2 separate regions of the Homo sapiens genome follow, and region 2 is linked to region 1. The links are contacts of gene promoters, found by promoter capture Hi-C in human tissues and cell types (Jung and others, 2019). All regions are on one chromosome and are shown on one strand. Each heading gives the region's core, a stretch centred on a gene start or on the middle of the fragment in contact. The rest is flanking DNA. Distances are from core to core; before and after follow the strand shown.

The links. The method cuts DNA at HindIII sites, captures the fragments that hold promoters and counts their contacts. A contact is called where the count stands out against the background at its distance.
Region 2: a fragment that was not itself captured here is called in contact with the fragment with the promoter of SNTG1 in region 1 in 2 of the 25 tissues and cell types used here (H1 embryonic stem cells and hippocampus).

What each region holds. Positions count from the first base shown.
Region 1 is chr8:49,909,578-49,916,084 of GRCh38, forward strand. It overlaps SNTG1 (syntrophin gamma 1), which reads left to right and starts at 1,830. Exons shown (of 19, transcript NM_018967.5): 1 at 1,830-2,654. RefSeq lists an enhancer at 735-1,679. The HindIII fragment of the contact is 7,737 bases long and covers 1-6,507 here.
Region 2 is chr8:49,962,483-49,969,159 of GRCh38, forward strand. The region is part of intron 1 of SNTG1 (syntrophin gamma 1); the gene reads left to right. Among named protein-coding and RNA genes, the nearest start is that of SNTG1, 54 kb to the left of the region's middle. The HindIII fragment of the contact is 5,023 bases long and covers 1,173-6,195 here.

The DNA of each region.
Region 1 (6,507 bases), core at 580-3,079:
AGATACTCTCTTTTTAGGTTTGTGTGTCTCCGTGAGGTCAGATGGATTCCCCAAACACGGTTTTAGAGAGAATCACAACCTTTAATAGATCCTCTGTTAAAAAAGACTGTTAGAGAAAGTTGACCAAGGGCTTCGTTCCACGGCGACCGTTTCCTGCGTGTGCAGCTCCACACAGCGACCGCGGCCTGCAATGTGCGGAGCACAGCGCGGCCCCTTCCAGCCGGAGCTCGCGAGCCGCGGTGGCGGCTGGTGGCCACCCCAGGGAAATAAAGCCGTTGCTGCTGCAGCAAAATGGCTCAAAGTCCAACCAAAGTCTGGCCTTTTCCTGTGAGTAAATACGCGGCCTGTTTGGTTTTCCGTCCCGAGTGATTCCCGGCTCAGTAACGTTTCTCCTCCAGGGAGCCCACTGGAACTCCACTGGCTGTGCCGCCTCCTCGCCCGTCCCCCGCGCGCGCCGCAGGCCGGTGCTTGGAGAGCGCAATGTCCCCGGGAGGGAAGATCCCCTACCTGGAATGGATGGTTCCAGACCAGCGGGAACGCGCTCTAATCCTTGATGGAAGCAAGCGTGGGAGGAAAGCACAACGTCTAGGACTTCCCTGTAGTGTCAGAACAGGAAGAAGAACCTGAGAAGTCGCCGGGGAAGGGAGGCCAGGAGCAGGCGTCCGGCCCCTTCCCACAGCCCGGGAGAAATTAGTGTTGCGCCCCGCCCCTCCCGGACCCCCGTCCCCACCACACACACCAGCGCCCCTCACCAGTCTTTCTCGAATTTCCTCTCATGTCTATCAATAACCTCCTTGTGCAGAAATCTACACTGCACAAGTTAGGAGTCTGCAAGGGCGGGCGGTGTTACAGTCTCGCTCTTTCCATTTTCCCCTTTTACTCCACATAGTTTCAAAGGTCCACATGGCCCTGGTTTTGACCAGTTTTCCAACAGTTTCAACGTTATGTATTTCAACTTCCCGTCTCAGTTCACTGGCGTCTGCACCCGTTGCCGAGTGTGGGTGGCTGAGCCCTGGGTGACAGCACTCGGGACCACGCACCCATACCCTTCTTTATGCTCGTTGTCAGCCAGTTGCCAAGAGCGGGAGTGAAGAGCCTGCAAGGCCCGGGAGAGCGCGGATTCCGGAGTAGGGAGGCGAGGGGGCAGCGTGGGAGACCAGAGGGAAAATGGGCTGAAAAGCCAACAAAAAAAACAACGTAAATTGGGCTTTGCTCTGGCTTTACAAAGGCAGAGATTGTCGAGCCCTCTGACTGTCTTTGTGCCTTCTTTATCCCGTCCTTTGTGAAATAAGCCGTTTTCTGCCCCCACTGCAGGAGCCTAGGCTGTGGGCGACTCGCTAGCACTGCCCTGGGCCTCCAAGCTGCCTGCTCGCTGAGCTCAGCGCTGACACTCACAGGAGCTGCGTTCGCCGGATCCTCTGAGAGGCTCTGCAACGATCCCGATCCAATTCAGCAGCGTTTTAAAAGGTAGCCGAGTGCAGATGCTTTTTCCTGTCTTTTTCATTCTTTCATTCTCTGTCTTTTAAAATTTTAACAATAACCTATCGTTTCCGCGTGGAGGGTCTAAGAATCTTCACTGGGTTTAATTTAGGAATTTCAAATTGGGTTTCTCAAAATTTGAATGTGGTCCCCTTAATTGGTAATCAAGATTGCGGAGTTTTCCAAAATATTCCTTTTCATCTTATGTAATTAAAGATCCACGAGCTTTCCAAAGAAGCTCTGGATTTTCCACGGTACAAATCTATATATTTTTTCTCTCTCTTCCTCTCTCTCTCTCTCTGCCTCTCTCGTGCGTGTATGTGCGCGCCCCTGTGCGTGCGTTTTCTTTCATTTCTGGCATTAGGAAACTCGTGCAGGGCCACTGAAAAGTCAGGGGAGGCTCAGATGTTATTTCCCAGGGATTCCTGTTTTTCCAGAAACGTTGTCACCAAATAAGTATGAGACTGTTAATTTGGAGAAACAATTAGCCCCTACAAAAAAAAAAAAGAAAGAAAAAAGAAAAAAAAAAGAACCGGAGGGGAGAAGGCTAGGGCGGAAGACAAGGAAGCTGCTGCTTGGATTCGCTGGTGGAGGAAAGTGCGACCTGGACCTGCGCTTAGGGGCTCCCGTCCCCTTACTTCAGCACCAGAGGGGATGGACAGCGTCTCCGGACTGAGCTGCAGCCACAGGGACGGAACTACGCTGCCGCCGCCGCTGTCCTTGCCGCCACTGTCGTCGCCACGGGCAGCTGGGCTACTTGCTCCTCGCAGCTAAAAGGCGGTGCCTCCTATTACCCCCTCGCCTCCCGGCCCCCTTCCTTAATGGATGAAAAGTACCCCTCCCTCTACACCTGCTGTACCTAAGGACAGGACTCTGAGGAGTACTCTTGCTCCACAGATTAAACTCTCAGCAGCAACTTCAAGAATCATTTTTCTATAGGGGTCTGGGAGGAATTCTGGAGGAGAGTAAAGTCGAAGTTCTTAGAAGCTCTGAGAAATCATGGGCCGTGCGGTAGGGGTTGAAATGCTCAAAGGTCCACACTTCTTGAAATAAACAGAATGGTCTTGAGTGGATTGCAACTGTTTTGGAAATAGCTTTGTGAAAAGAGGGTGGAGAGCTACTCAAAATTCTACGTTAGAGAGACTGAAAAGACATCTAATTTCATTGCTCGGCAGGTAAGTGATAGCGCTATTATTTTTGTTTTTTAAAATTCTAATGACTTGTCTTATGGTTTAACAGAAAGATCATAAGCAGTGTAATTTTTTCTGGGGTTAACGAGGAGACAAGCAATTTTGTTTTAAAATAATTGTTTCTGGATCATTGTGTGACAAGAAGAATCAAAATAACATACATGTTGCCTTACATAATTACAGTAAACTTTTAGCTGGCCATTTTTCTTATTGCTTATCTAATATCTTTTTGGATCTGGCATATCTTGTTTATTTTTTCCCAAAACTAATGCAATCGTTTGGCAAGATAATTTTGTTGTCTTATGTATGCCATAAAAAGTGATCCTGTCTGTGTTACATAGTATGCAAGACTAAAAAAGTTAAAATAGAGAGGGTTTAACCATGCCCTCTAACATATTTTATATTGTTATAATATACTAAACTATGCATGGGAACAAATACATGTATACATATACACCAGATTTCTCACTCCATGCCAACCTCCAAGTATACCTACACCTGTAGGATCTTACGTAAGGAGACACTCATATTTTTACTTAGCACCCTCTTTCCAGCCTTTGAAAGCTCAAGATTGCTTTCTCAAACCTGATCTGCCAGAAAGCAGAAAATGAGAAGCTTTAGTGTGCCTCTTTAGGAGAGCTGGATTTCAAAATCATTCTAACTTATTAGTTCTGCAAAATACATTTGTCAGTGAAATCCAGAAAGTGATAGGGACCAGTAGGTTCCCGAAAAACCATAAACTTTAAAATGCTAATTAAATCTGTTTTCTGTTGATTCTTATTTCTAGTTTTCCCCTGGAGCTTTAAAATTACAATCTTTCACAGTGACCTTGATAAGCATTCTGCTTTAATAAAAAGGGTTCACTGGGCAAAAGCAGTTACACAAATTTGTAACCCGTGCCTGACATTTCACTAAGAATCCGATCAATTCCAATGAGTACATTCAGTTCAGTGAAGAGTTTTGACTTGCAAGGATGGAATTTTACAGTCATGTAAATACATGTGATGAGATATTCATAATCAACTCTGTGAAAAGAGTCTACCCCTTTGAAAAATTACAGGAGATCTTTAGGTTTTACTTTTAATTTCACTGGTTGTGTGTAACGATAGTAAAATGGCTCTAATGCATATCTATACGTACCTTCCTTCTCAATTTTAACACAAAAATCATTGGAGGCCGTTACAGTGGCATTCATTGGTGGGGTGATGTCCTCTTGTTTTATGTTGGCTGAGTGTAGCAATTACTCTGAGGAAAAATCATTCTTAACTGTCACCACTTACCATGAACCTGCTTGCTTAGCAGAAAAGGAGCAGAGGCATCTATGTCACTGAGCTCCTTGGGGGCTCCGTTGCCCTATATAGGTCAAGAATGATTATCTGAGGAGGAGAAACATGTATTATTGATTTGGATTCCTTCCCAGAAAACCTACAATGTGCTCTTAACACAATCCTTTTTTTCCTCAGTGGGAGAGGTATGGAAGTGAAATTATCACATGGAAGACTTAATCATATTTTAAGAGAGTTACAGCATGTCTTTAGACAATTATTTTGGCTGTCAATTAATTAACACAGAGGGACTCCCCTAGTCAGTAGGGCATAAAATGTAAGCAGAGAATGTGTTTCAAGAAGCACTCCTCTGTGTATATGGCCGCAGTTCCCTCCTCAGGGGCAGAGGGGGCAGGCTTTCTCTATGTGTAACTGAAATCTCACAAAGTGAAAGTTACCTTTGCCTAATCCCTTAGGAGATTTAGTCACAGAAATATGTAACTCTAATTCACCCCAAACTCATGAAACTGCATGGAAACCCTTGTCAATCCTTATCTGTAGGGAAATGTCCTTACATTGAGATAGAGTTTGGGAAAGCAACTTAATGCCTACCAATGCTAATCTCTAATTGTAAAGTAGATAGTCAAACAAACAAACAAAAAGGGGGTAGTGGAAACCAATCTTCATTATTGCACAGAATCACTTGTCTTTAAAGAAAAATCAACATTTTATTAAGGGATATCTGTACCCCACTAAGGGCATCTATTTGCTTTGATAGTTATTTTGTTTTGCTAAAGAAAAAGGATGCATGAGGTCTTGGGAGTACCAAACACACTATCTTTTCCCCATTAAAAAAAAAAAAAAAGTTTTATTGGATAAGACTAAGTGTTGTTGGCTGTTGCTTACATTTGAGACTCAAAAGAGAAAGGTGAGATGGGATTACATAATCTAGAAAATGTAAAGTATATATAGGACCAGAGGATAATTTAAAATGAGCCCTGGAATCCATTCAATTGCCTTCTTCCAAAATGTTATAAAAACACTTCTTGATTAATTTTTGCATAGACTATATAAATATTACTTGTATATTCTAATGTAATTATTCATACCATGAAATCGTATTGGATTTTAATGCTCACAGTTTGCCTTTGGAGTTATTTACTTGGGTTTCAATCAAGTTCAAACATTTATCAAAAAATATAAAAGTAAAAAATGACTATTGCTAATATTTAGTAATTGGCTGTTTTTGACCACTTAAAGATTTATAAATTCCAAGCAGCTAGCCTGCTTACTCACCTAGTTCTGTTAAGCAACACAAAAGCCACTAGGAAAGAAAAAAGCATATTGTAAGCTAGAAATTATTTCCATAGTAATCTCACCTTCCCAGAAATCTGTACAGTGTGTTATAGAATAGAATTCAAATGGAGAGAGATCTCTTATTTGGTGTTTTCTTCCTATTTAGCTTAGCAGAGTGAGCACATAGCATGTGTTGGAAGAGACAACATCCTGTGGTAAGAAACATGTTACACATCATGTTGTAGGGAAACAAGTACTACTTGACAGTCAAAAGATCAGAATTTTTTAACTGCTGGCCATAAGATCTTCTACAAGTCACTCAATCCACTGCAGCTGAATTTTTCTTCCTTAAATTTGGGGATTCTTTACTTTTCAATGAAGACACAATAATTTACATACAGCTGATACCTGAACACTCATGAGATAAGTGAATGATGCCTACTTTGTGGGATACTGGAAAGTCGAAATTCAATGATTTTGAGAGTGTTTTGGAAACAAGTGTTATATCTGTGAGTTATTATAAATAATTTCCAATAGCATTCATTCATTCGTCAAAAAAAATCCCACTAATTACTAAATAACAGGCACATCCCTTATACTTAACAACTCTCAGCATAGGGAATATAATACTTCCCTGATACTTCAGCAGTCATTTCCTTTACATCTCTTAATGGTATAAATATAAGTGATATTCAATGAAGGTGGACTTGGTTTCAAAAATATTTTATTACTCAGAACTGACACCACATTCTATATCAATTGGACAAACTTAGTTGACCTGAGTCTATTTCAACAACTTTCATTTTGACCTTCAAAGAATCTATCATGTCGTGTCATAATTTTCTAGTTTATAAAGGAGGATTAATGTTTGTCATTAGTGATATTGATAAGGAAACTCATACGATGAAATACACTTCAAAACTCCATATCCTAAAACATACAGAAAGCATTGTGATTTGACTGCTGGCTTGTGAGCATGGAGTGAAATGTGGACAACATGCGGGCTGATCTAAGGGGCTAGCCTGGAAATGCTGTTAAGATGTTGTTTTGATTTAGTCGAAAGCCTAGATTTTATTCATAGGCCTCTTTAGGACATCTCTTTAGAAAATCGAATAAGCAGTATTTCATTGCTTATTTGCTTTTCTTAGTCGGGTTTTAAACGTCACTATGATTTTTTCAATGTAATTTATCAACATTTGGTCTGTATAGATTTCTAGACTATCACTAAAAATATACTGACAGTATTCTTAGGAAATATAAGTCAATGTTTGGTGTTA
Region 2 (6,677 bases), core at 2,434-4,933, 55 kb after region 1:
AAAAAGAGCCGGGTCTTGTTCCAACTCTGTGCTGCCACTCAAGGCCCATGTGAGTCTCTGAGTCTGTATTTACCTCAGATAGAGACAGTAGATGCATCCTGCCCTTCTTCTCCTCTCGTTGGGATGCAATGAGATAATGGCCTTGCTCTGTCACCCAGGCTGGGGTGCAGTGATGTGACCTCAACTCACTGCAACCTCTTCCTCCCAGTTCAAGAGATGCTTCTGCCTCAGCCTCCTGAGTAGCTGGGATTACAGGTGCATGCCCCACGCCCAGCTAATTTTGTATTTTTAGTAGAAATGGAATTTCACCATGCTGGCCAGGCTGGTCTTGAACTCTTGACCTCAAGTTGTTCCACCTGCCTTGGCATCCCAAGTTCTGGGATTATAGGCATGAGCCACTGCGCCCAACAAAGAGTGGTTCTAACCACAGATTCCCGGGCTGTTTGTAGCAGGGAGGCAGGCAGTATCTGGCAGGAGCAGGGGTACAGCCAGGGATCCACGACTCCTGAGTAGGTGCTTCTCAAGCCAGAGGCGGGAAGCGCAATCCAAGAAGTGACCGTCTCCTTGCAGTTTCATGACAGCACCTCCTGTAGTTGTAGCAGATGAAAGCTAAACAGATTAGTTAAAGGAATACATGAGTGGATGCATGAATAAAGTATAAGGGAATGAATCCAACCCTAAGTTAGAAAACCCTCTTCATCCTTAATCATACCACCTCCATAGTTTTCCCTTCCTCAGGAAGCAAAGCGCCAAGACATCTACCCACAGCATGTGCTGTATGAACGGTTTGCTGCAAACACTCTGCCAGGATTCAAATAAACAGGAGATCAGAAACTAGTGTTGGAAAATGTCTTTTGGCACATTGCCCAACTGTGATCTTGGCACGGCTGATTTTGTTTTGGTTTATGTCTTGGGCTTTCAATGTTCATTTTCATACTGCTGTTTCACAATTTTATTTTCTTTTTTGAGTCATAGTTTGTAAGAACTTGGTTTATATTACTATTCCAATGCAATAGTGTTTTTCTTTTGGTATGTAGTATGCTCTCCAATAAATTAGAAGTCACTAGTCTTGCCTCTTTACCATGCAGAAAACTTTCCTGATCAAGCAAGCATTGCCCCTATATCTTGCTCCTCTCCATTCTGTCAGCTGGGTGGAATTCAGTCCAGTGCTAACAGGTTGAGGTTTCCTTTACTACAAGCTACTGGTCTTTGCACTGTACCTTCTGATGATTGTTTAATCTCAAATGCATGTAGCAATGCTATGAATAGCTCCCACTTTATTTCAGTGAGTTTTAAAACTTCATGAAAATAGAACTTCACAGAGACTTCATTTTCTTCTCTGTTTTCCATAGCCAATATGATAAAACGTGTTTGTAAATCTTTTCAATTTAGAAAGACTTTTTCTTCAGCTTCTCATCAATGTCTGATATTTAAGAACTTATACATAAAGCTCAAAATGAGAAAAATAGCTTGCATCAAATCCATTAAATTCCCAGAAGTTATTTTCAACTCCACCCAAGTTAAATTAAATAACATGTATGCCTCACAAAAGTCACAGCACCTTGTTTATAGTAGGCACTCAGTGTGATTGATGTGTCAACTTGTCTAGGCCACAGTACCTAGATATTTGGTTAAACATTATTCTAGATGTTCCTGTAAAGGTATTTTTTAGATGAGGTTAATATTTGAATCAGTAGACTTGGAGCAAAGTAGATTACTCTTCAAGTGGATGACCACATCTAATCAGTTGAAGACCTTGGAAGGATAAGACTGGCTCCCCACAAGGAGGAGGGAGTCTTGCCACATACTGCCTTCAGGCTTGAGCTGCAGTGTCATCTCTGCCCTGGGTCTGCAACTAGCAGCTGACCCTGCAGATTTTAGACTTGTCATTCTCCACAGTTGCATGATCACATGAGCCAATACCTTCAAATCAATCCCAATGTTTCTCTAGTTCTCTCTCTCTCTACATAGATAGCTAGGTAGATTGATAGACAGGTAGATGATAACTAGGCAGATAGGTAGAGATTATATACATAGGTGAATAATAGGTAAACAGGCACAGGCATATACTCTATCTGTTCTGTTTCTTTAGAGGACTCTGGCAAATACTTACTGACAGTTGGATTAGTCCTTCTTTCTTCCCATGTGGGAAACCTCTGGAACAGGTGCGTTCTACTCACTTTCACCTTGTTTAGGCATATTTGTTGAAACAAAGTTTCCCCTTTTCTCATTTCTACATTTTTATTCTATTTTCCATTTTTAGCCAACATTTTGATATTTATCCAGTTCCATGATAGTAGGTATTCATTAGTGATCTCTTCCAAAAATTGTCTTTGTTACCTCCAAGATAGATGGAATTATTCTCAGTATAATTTTGAAGTTTAGTGTATTTCATTTTTTCTATAATTGATAGCCATGTATGGCACATTAAGTATTATCAAACCACATTAGAAATAGAATTTAATATAAATTAGAGTTTATTTATACAGTAGTTATTAAGGCAAGTTAAAATTAATGGCATACCGAACAGGATAGAGCATGGGATCTCTGACCTTTATTTTCAGTTAAAATAGAAAACATTGAAATGATACCACTGTTTCATGAAATGTCTAGTATGACGCTCTGGCACTGACCACACTCGTCTATTAAATTGGCATGATTTAGCTATCACTGATATTTGCCATTAATTCTGCTTATACCTATGAGGGTGATAAAAGTCAACTGTGACAATCTACACATCAATTTAGCAGTAAGGATACAGTTCTCCTGTGGATTCTAACAAATCTAGTACAGAAGGAGGCACTCAGTAGGTGATGACGATGATGTTAATGGAATGTAATACTCCTTTTTATATGAGTTTCTTTATGAACTTCTGGATATGTATACAGTGACTGAGGCCTGGATATATTTGCTAATGCAACAACTCACTGTCTAATCAGTCTGTTCTCCTCTCAAGGACATTTCACTTTGATTCTCATGCTTACTCACCTTAACAAACAGAAAATGAATTCAGAAATGAATAATTGGGCTTATGAGTGGAAGCTCAAGAGAATCCTGCTCTGGACACCAGGACAATAGTCTCTAGGGAAATGTGAAATCTCCATAAGCAGACACTGGGTTGCTTTTAGCTGCTTAATGTGGTTGTTGTCATGCGCCTTGATTGCTCCAACCTCTCTAGCCCCATCAGAAATGTTCCATTTTTAGATAACCGAATGTTTTTCATGAAAATAACACAAATAGGGCCCACTCTGGCTTTTGCAATTTCAAAGATATTTAAAACCAAATGGCATATTACAAATTTTAGTTATCATCCTCCTCTTTTATCTATTTTTTCCCAAATGTCATTTCTACTAATTCAGTGTTTTTCTAACTTCCTCCTGTGATCTTTCATCTCCTTTCATTTTACCTTTTCTTTCAGTCTATATGGAAATTAAAGGGAGTCCATTTTTGAGTTCCTGCTGTTTCAGTGTTTTATGCTGGACTTTCTTATGCCTCCCCTTCATCTACCCAACTAAGCTCTGTGCATCTTCCTTGTTATGACTTTTTGCTGCAAGTATACTCAGCATGTAATGTTCATCTCTAGAATATATCTGGTTTCTATTTCTGATTCAATTTCTACTTGCTCAAGTCTCTCTTGGACTATTTTTCTTGTCTCTATTGGGAAAATCTGAGAAAAAAATAGAGTTTGGAGCCTGTCTAATTAGGTTTGAAGCTTTGGTAAAGTTGCTTCTTTCAAGCCTCAGTTTCTGTCTTTGTAAAAAGGTATATTTATAGTTATTAGTCCATAAAATCATTGTAAATTTGTTGATTTGTACGGGAAATACAGTCAGTACTTTAAGTGTTTAGTTACCATTTTTGTTTTTCCTGTTTAAAAAAAGTCTATAGCTTATTCCAGTCTTTTTTTAAATTAATTAATTAATTTTTTTTTTTTTGACAGAGTCTCGGTCTGTTCCTCAGGCTTGAGTGCAGTGGTGCAATCTCTGCTCACTGCAACCTCAGCCTCCCAACTTCAAGCTATTCTCTTGCCTTAGCCTCCCTAGTAGCTGGGACTACAGGCACCCGCTACCACATCTGGCTAATTTTTGTATTTTTAGTAGAGGCGGGGTTTCACCATGTTGGCCAGGCTGGTCTCAAACTCCTGACCTCAAATGATCCATCCACCTTGGCCTCCCAAAGTGCTGAGATTACAGGTGTCAGCCACCACGCCCAGCCTATTCCAGTCTTTTTGACTAAAACACATATTTAACCTATGGAAATAATTTATTTTTATTTTACTTTTATTCCATTGGTAGTGAATTTGTAACCAAGAATGGGTATGATGACGTGTGAAATTATTTCCTTTACTATATAGGCATATTTTTATGTGCTACTTTGTGTATATCTAGCATATATTAAATAATAAATAATTGTTCGATGGTTATATTGCAATGCAAATAGATGTTTATGTAAATTTAGTGCCATATCACAAATTTGCTAGCAAGATTTTTTTCAATAATCTATAAACAATGTCAAGAAAATATTTTTGTGCTTTCTTTACTATTTGGAGAGCACTCTATTAGAAAAAATGCCAGGAATAATAACAATAGCTTATACTCACTATTGGCCAGGCATTGTCCCAAGGGCGTAAGTATTTTATCATCCTCATAACAGTCCTTCGAAGCTGGGCCAGTTGTGATTTTTATTTCACAAATGAAAAAACAGATGTACAGTATAGGTTATTTCTTCCCCAAAGTCACATGTTTAATGGCAAGAAAAAGGGGCTTGAAGAATGCCTGTCTGGCTTTGGAGTCTGTCCTCTTAGCATGCAGAAAGCCTGTTCTCAGGGAGCTTACAGTCTGTTCTCAGGATGGTGTTTTGTCACATGTGACACAGCCATTTGTTTCATCTTGTTTTATCTATTATAAAATCTACTTCTGTAGACATGAGACTGTGAACTTTTCTGTATTGTTTACTTTCTGCTTTGGTAGATACATTTGCTCATTGCACATACGTGGTGATGCAAGTTTTTCATCTGATAAAATCTTCACTTTTCATTGATTTTTGTTCTCAATTTTTATTAATTTATTATAATATATAAACTTTGTTTTAATTCGAATTGGTTAATTTGGACAGGAAAAAAAGTTCAGTAAATATAATTTTTAGCCTTTTCTCAACCTGCCTTCACCATAAGAGTGCCAGGTGTCTGAGTTCAACCCTTTCTCTGAAATAGCTTTTTCATTTGTAGTGAGAATTGATAAGTGTTAATTATCACTGAAAGTGAGATTAAAGCAGTGAAAAGTTCCATTAAGAAGAATTAATTACTAGGCTGGCATTTAATGGAAAGGTCTTAAGCAAATAATAAGATGCCATCAGCATCTTATTACATCTCGCTACTGACATTTGTAGTTTAAGATCATGATTATCAAATTAATCTGGCTTTACAGCAGCTTCCTCCCTGTCCCCAGGACTGTGCACTTTTCTACACAGATACAAGAGCGAGGGTATTCTCCTCAGTCTTGGTCCTATCCTTCAGTGTCTTGCAGTACTTCAGAGAATCACCCTATTCATCTTCCAAGTCCAGTTATGCTTACTCTATACCTGGTGAACAGTCTTTGTTTTTTTTTCTGCAAGTAAATACAATGGTCTTTTCACCATATGTCAATATATACCATTGGAAGGAAAGATTTTGGGCAGAGCAGAAGGAAAAATGTATTTTGTTCTTCCAATTTCTTTGTGTCCAAAGCCATTGCCCACATCCTTCATTGAATCTGATGATTTAAAATGTGCCCCCAAAGTCTCCAGTACTTACCAAAACACAATATATTTGCTTATGAAATTTCAGCACCTTCTCTTCCCCCCCAATTATGGTGTATTTTGTCTCATGTAAAGATCATTAAACTTTTTTGACTTTTGATTCTTGTGACTTGAGAATTACCAATAAAGAACACAAGCAAAAATATTTTACCCATTAGGTTGGCACAATGTCTTGACATTGCATTAATTTTTCAGTTCCAAAATTTTCATAAGATCTAAAGTGGAAAGATCCAGATCACTAGATGCAATACTGAAAGGATAAGGGCAAGAACTTGTAATAAAGTTTAAAGTTTCCAGGTTTCTACATGCAAAAGACATCTCCTTATTCAGAGGAAATAATATCAATTTGGGAGGATCAGATGTAGCTTCAGGATGCAGGTTATACCAAAGAGATAGACCCTTATTCTTCCAGATAGACCAAAGCTATAGCTGGAAGAATAATGAAGACTTCTCCATGAAAGAGAGGACCTCCCAGGCAAGCAAGAAGCCATTTATCTCCTGCAATCCAATCATAATTATTTACAGGCGCTGTGTTCCAGAGTTCCAGAAAACCAAAAGGCAGACACATTCCGGATAGAACTGGGGATGACAGATCTTTCCCTTGGACTGATGAGCACTACAGGCAAAGGGCGATACTGAGGCAGAATAATATATTTCAGGCTGCATTTAAAACTCCAGAGACTTGAGTGCCAAGTAAAGGAGTCTGGATAAAGTCTGGAGGAAGGGGACAGAGAGAGAATATTTTTGAGCTTTGGAAATATTAACTGGGAATTAGTGTGTAAAATGAATTGGAGGCAGAATGATAGACAGATTAGGTGACAGCAAAGTAACTAATGGATTGGTGGCTTGTATGTGTGCTGCTTAACTCAAAATCTTCTGCATTG